2 separate regions of the Homo sapiens genome follow, and region 1 is linked to region 2. Evidence: promoter capture Hi-C in human tissues and cell types (Jung and others, 2019). All regions are on one chromosome and are shown on one strand. The core of a region is centred on a gene start or on the middle of the fragment in contact, and the rest is flanking DNA. Distances in the headings are between cores, read along the strand shown. Region 1 overlaps GPR176 (G protein-coupled receptor 176). Region 2 holds the start of SRP14 (signal recognition particle 14).

Region 1 (2,700 bases), core at 76-2,575, 140 kb before region 2:
TAGCCAGACGTGGTGGTGCATGTCTGTAATCCCAGCTACTTGGGAAGCTGAGGTGGAGGGATCGCTTGAACCCAGGAGGCAGAGGTTGCAGTGAGCCGAGATTGTGCCACTGCACTCCAGCCTGGGCAACAAAGTGAGACTCTGTCTCAAAGAAAACGAAAAAATAGACTCCAAGACCCCATGTCAAACCCACTAAAACAGAATTTCTGTTGGTGAAACTCAATAATTTGCATTTTGACAAGTGATTTTTATGCATACTAGGTTTAAGAATCTCTGCCTTGCAAGTACAATCACAAAAGAGGCAGGGTGATTTACCAGCACTCAACCCACCATTCAGCAGCAAGGCCAGGCTAGAATTTACCCTTCCCAAGCACCTGGTGTGATCCTTACCTGCTAGAGCCCATTGATTTGTTATTAACAAGAAAAATGATTTGACACTCTTCAGGGAAAAGTTCCATCCAATCTTAAGAATAATAGCATCCTGCAGAGAAACAGGCAGTTAGCCCTCTAGTCCCTAATCCTGCCTTTCACCTGGCAGACGCAGAAAGCTTCATCTTAAGGCTTCTGGTCATTTGTAGATTCATTGCTACTAAAGACTTGCAACCTTGGGAGCAGGCCACAGAAACAACAGGTCAAATACAAAAGGTGCTATTCTCATCAATCAATGAAAGGGTCTGAAAACTGAGATTTGATTATTTTGTCTCTGCTGGAGTCTCGCTTGAACTCTGTGTTCCTGGAAATTGAATTAACACTCAGGTTGACTTCAGAGAGTTATTCTTTCCTTCCCATTTAGCAGCCTCTGAAAGTGTTTCTTGCCCTAAGAAACTACACAGGAAGCCCCAACAAAAAGTAGTTGTAATTAAAGGTGCAAATGAGCACACAAGGGATGCCCAGGGAACCAGGGAGTAAATATCACATATTCTATACAAGGCAGAGATGTCCTCAAAAATTCTTGCTCAGAAAATACAAAGTCACTCCTAATACAAGGCACTCTCTCAATTAGAGATGGTCCCAACCTATGAGAGTTCCACTTTCAATTTTTCAACTTTACCATGGTGCAAAAGCAATATATTTTCAGTACAGTATTTAATAAACTACATGAGGTATTCAACACTTCATTATAAAATAGGCCTTGTGTTAGATGATTTTCTCCAACTGTTGGCTAATGTAAGTGTTCTGAGCTCATTTAAAGTAGTCTAGGCTAAGCTATGATATTTGGCAGTTTAGGTGTACCAAATGCATTTTCAGCTTATACTTTCAACTTACAATGGATTTACTGGGACACCTCATCATAAGTCAAGGAGCATCTGTACTTTATTCGAAACAAATAACAAATTATTTGGAACTTTGTTTGGAGAAGGCACGATGACCTGAAATTATCTCTGTCCATGCTACTTTGGGCTTCCTGTAGAGGTCATCTGATGCAGTACGTTTTAAAAAGAAGCAAATTATTCATCATTCCTGGGTGTGTGAGTTCACAACTGTAAGTTTTATAAGCTCTCTTTAAAAATCCATATATTATTATGTCATGGCATTTGTGAATGGCAACCAGACAAACAGGGAGAAGAAAGAAAAACAGTCCTAAAAAAATGAGAATGATTACTTGTGGCTTAGCATAATATTTTCAGTGGCTACATCATATGTGAGGTTTTTTTTTTTAAGTGTGGCATCTTACACAGGTTTAAGTAATGATGATGGGCCTCCAAAAAACTGTATGAGATGGCTCCAAACTGCTTCCAGCCAAAGCAGATGCTGATGTTGAAGAGGCATATGGAGACTTTGAACAAAACTGCATCATGAATTTTAAGTAGGGGGAAAAATGCTTCTAAATTAACATAGTGTCTGGTCATTGTGTTACAGGAAAGGGGTCCAATCCAGACCCCAAGAGAGGATTCTTGGGTCTCGTGCAAGGAAGAATTCAGGACGAATCCCATAGGGTGAAGTGAAAGCAAGTTTATTAGGAAAATAAAAGAATAAAAGGATGGCTACTCCATAGACAGAGCAGCCCCAAGGGCTGCTGGTTGCCCATTTTTATGGTTATTTCTTGATGATATGCTAAACAAGGGGTGGGTTATTCATGCCTTCCCTTTTTAGACCACATATGGTAACTTCCTGATGTTGCCATGGCATTTGTAAACTGTCATGGCACTGGTGGGAGTGTAGCAGTGAATACGGCCAGAGGTCACTCTCGTTGTCATCTTGGTTTTGGTGGGTTTTGGCTGGCTTTTTTACTGCAACCTGTTTTATCAGCAAGGTCTTTATGACCTGTATCTTGTGCTGACCTCCCATCTCATCCTATAAGTTAGAATTCCTTAACTGTCTGGGAATGCAGCCCGGCAGATTTCAGCCTTATTTTACCCAGCTTCTGTTCAAGATGGAGTTGCTCTGGTTCACATGCTTTTGATAATCAGAAGCAGAAAATTCTACCAAGGCATCAAGATATAATAGATATAAAGTAAGATATCAGATCAAGATGTAAATGTTTCACAGGTGTAGTCAAGAGGTATAAGACTCAAACCTTCACCAACCTGGAGGATATAATGGAATAGATAGAGAACTGTGGGTGCACTGTGAGTCCTACTTACCCAGGAAGGAAGGGTGGGGGTGCTCATCAAAGCCCTCAGGCCTGGTTAGGGGTTTTCAACAAGCCCATGCAGACATTTGATTTGTGTCCCCTGCAATTGGGGTTCACTGTGAATT
Region 2 (2,774 bases), core at 1-2,500:
GAAATAATAGCATCACCTGGTACCAAGAAACTGCTTATTGAAGGCCCAGCACAGTAAGGGGCTAAGGAATCAAATATTTATGCCAGCTGCTCCTTACAGTACTACGAATAAGGACCAATATGCTACTTTCATTTCCACAAGAGCTTTAGCAGAACTAACGACTGTCTGACCTCTACCTTCTTATTTTATTCTTGAGGTTTCCACTACTAAAGTATAGGAAGGTCCTGGTCTCAAAAATAGCCACACAGGGCAAAAGGGAAAAACAAATAAAAGCCTGGTTCAGAAACGCCCCATCCTCTGTTAAGTTCAAGTCTTTACATTTCAAAAGACAGCCTTAGAAATTAAGCTCACCACAGTGCTGATCTTCTTCTTCCCATCGGTAGCTCTTAACAGACACTTGTTGTCTGCGGGCTCAAAGCCCTCCACAGTACCCTTCTTTGGAATGGGTTTGGTTCGACCGTCATCTGAAGGAAAAAATGCATCCTGGTGAACACGGCCGCGTACGTGGCTGAGCGGCAGACAAACAGTTAAAACAGAGGAGTGGGGTAAGTGATGACCTAACCCAGCCCCGCTGCTCTAGTTTTGTTAAACACCTCATCTGCTATCACGGTCTGGCGAAACCCTGGAGAAACTATTATTTCCACGACGGAAACATGTAATATCGAAGCACGTTAAATTCCACTCAAAGTGGCGGCGTCTGGGATCCCTGACAAAGAGCCCTGGGCTGCTTGGGGCCCATTGTTACCAGAAGCAACCTAGGCGGCTCAGTGCTGGGGACTGAGCCAGCTACAATCCCTACTATTTTCCGGGCCCGAAGCCCCGAATGTGCTCAGTACAGGGTGGGGAAAGGTAGAGGAAGGCGGCGGTCCGCGGCAGACAGACTCCGGTGGCTCCCAGACACCGGGAACCCAGGGAGCATCGCCCGGCTCCCCTCCCGCTGCTTACACTTCTTCAAGGTGATATAGACGCTGCCCGACGTCCGGCACTTCTGGAAAAGTCTGGTCAGCTCCGTCAGGAACTGGAAAACAACAGGCCCAGCCCCGTTAGCCAGCCCCAAATCCTCGTCCTGCCGCGTCAAGGCCCTGGTCCTCCTGCAGGAGGCACAGGTCTCGAGTAACGCCTGAGCCGCCCCCTTCCCTCGGCCGGCCAGGCCTAGCCATACCTGCTCGCTCTCCAACAACACCATCGCGGCGACGCTGGCTCGACTCCCTCCGCTTAAGCCCCTAGCAGTGAGAGCCGGAAGTTCGGCCTAGGCTGGGCGGGACTTCCGCTACTAGACTTCCATTGTCTTCCACCAATCTCTTCTCTTCCACCAATCCCGGCCTGCGCCCTCCCCCCTCCCCGCCCGCCTAGCGCCCGCGCCCTGGGACGTCCGGGGGCCTGTGACCCGGAGGCGCTGGGGCTGTCCTGGGTCGTCACATGCGAGAAATCGTCTCACCCCAGCCAGTGTGACGGAGTGAGAGCAAAAGAAAGTTTTGATAGCAGCGTACGATTTATATTCAGCTGTATGCTGGGCAGGTAACCTAACAACTCAGTGACTCAGTTTCCTTATCCATAAAGTAAGGGTAATGATAGTATCTACCGCGCAGTGTGGTCGTGAAGCGTAAATGAAACTCAGATTAAATACGTAGAACAGTGCCTGGCACATAGAGCGTGTTCAGTAGGTATCAGCTATTGTTCTTTTCATTATTGTCATTATAAGTTCCTGTAGAGATCCTTTAAACTCTCCCTAAACGCTGACCTGCAGCTCTAGCCAGAAGGGCTGGGCCGGGCGTGGTGGCTCACGCCTGTAATCCCGGCACTTTGGGAGGCCGAGGCGGGTGGATCACGAGGTCAGGAGATTGAGACCATCCTGGCTAACACGGTGAAACGCTGTCTCTACTAAAAATACAAAAAAGTTAGCCGGGCGTGGTGGCGGGCACCTGTAATCCTAGCTACTCGGGAGGCTGAGGCAGGAGAATGGCGTGAACCCAGGAGGCAGAGCTTGCAGTGAGCTGAGATCGCGCCACTGCACTCCAGCCTGGAAGACAGAGCGAGACTCCGTCTCAAAAAAAAAAAAAAAAAAAAAAAAAATGAGGGGCTGGAGCCCAGTCTTTAGTTCTACCTCTGATTAGTCAGGAGAACTAGGTTGTAAGCCCTCTCTGCCACTAGCCAACTTGAACCCTGGGCCCTCTATAAAGTCAAGCATTCCACCACACAAGAGGTTTTCGCTGAGTGCCTCTCAGTCTGTGCCAGGCACGGTTGTAGAGGTTGGGGATGCAGCAGGATAAGAAAAGCTAAGTTCCTGGTTTCCTGGAAGTTGGGTTAAAGGGGCAGGGAGGAAATAAACAATGAAGCAAACAAGTAAGTAGTACAGCTTCAGATAATGAATTCCGTGAGACAGCCTAAGCAGGGCTGTATAATGAGAGTGGGAAGGGGACTGCCTGGGTTGGGGTCAGGGGAGTTCTCGTCGAAAAGGAGAACTTTGAGTTGAAAGCTGAAAGGACCAGCCATCCAAAGATCTAGGGACACAGTGTTTCAGACACAGGGAACGGCTAGAGCAAAACCTTCAAAGGGGAAACAAGTTGCCCTGTGTCTGTAAGACTGGCAGGTGCGGGTGGGGGTGAGGAGGGCTTGTGGAGCAAGGAGTAAAGGAGTATGGAGAGGTAGCTGGGGACCAGATTATGTAGGGCCCGTGACCATAGTAAGCCTGGATTTTGTTCTAGATACAAAGAGAAGACTCGTTAAGGAAGTTTTCAACAGAACACTGAAAATCTGATTTATATTTTTTAAAG

The links. The method cuts DNA at HindIII sites, captures the fragments that hold promoters and counts their contacts. A contact is called where the count stands out against the background at its distance.
Region 1: a fragment that was not itself captured here is called in contact with the fragment with the promoter of SRP14 in region 2 in 1 of the 25 tissues and cell types used here (liver).

What each region holds. Positions count from the first base shown.
Region 1 is chr15:39,901,936-39,904,635 of GRCh38, forward strand. The region is part of intron 1 of GPR176 (G protein-coupled receptor 176); the gene reads right to left. Among named protein-coding and RNA genes, the nearest start is that of GPR176, 17 kb to the right of the region's middle. The HindIII fragment of the contact is 3,146 bases long and covers 1-2,700 here.
Region 2 is chr15:40,037,931-40,040,704 of GRCh38, forward strand. SRP14 (signal recognition particle 14) reads right to left here and starts at 1,251. Exons shown (of 5, transcript NM_003134.6): 1 at 1,163-1,251; 2 at 946-1,018; 3 at 352-464. The coding sequence starts at 1,186. It overlaps SRP14-DT (SRP14 divergent transcript), which reads left to right and starts at 1,381. Exons shown (of 3, transcript NR_040060.1): 1 at 1,381-1,518. LOC124903471 (a long non-coding RNA gene) reads left to right here. Exons shown (of 2, transcript XR_007064596.1): 2 at 1-479. RefSeq lists enhancers at 269-1,214, 915-964, 985-1,164, 1,215-2,159 and a silencer at 1,245-1,454. The HindIII fragment of the contact is 11,754 bases long and covers 1-2,774 here.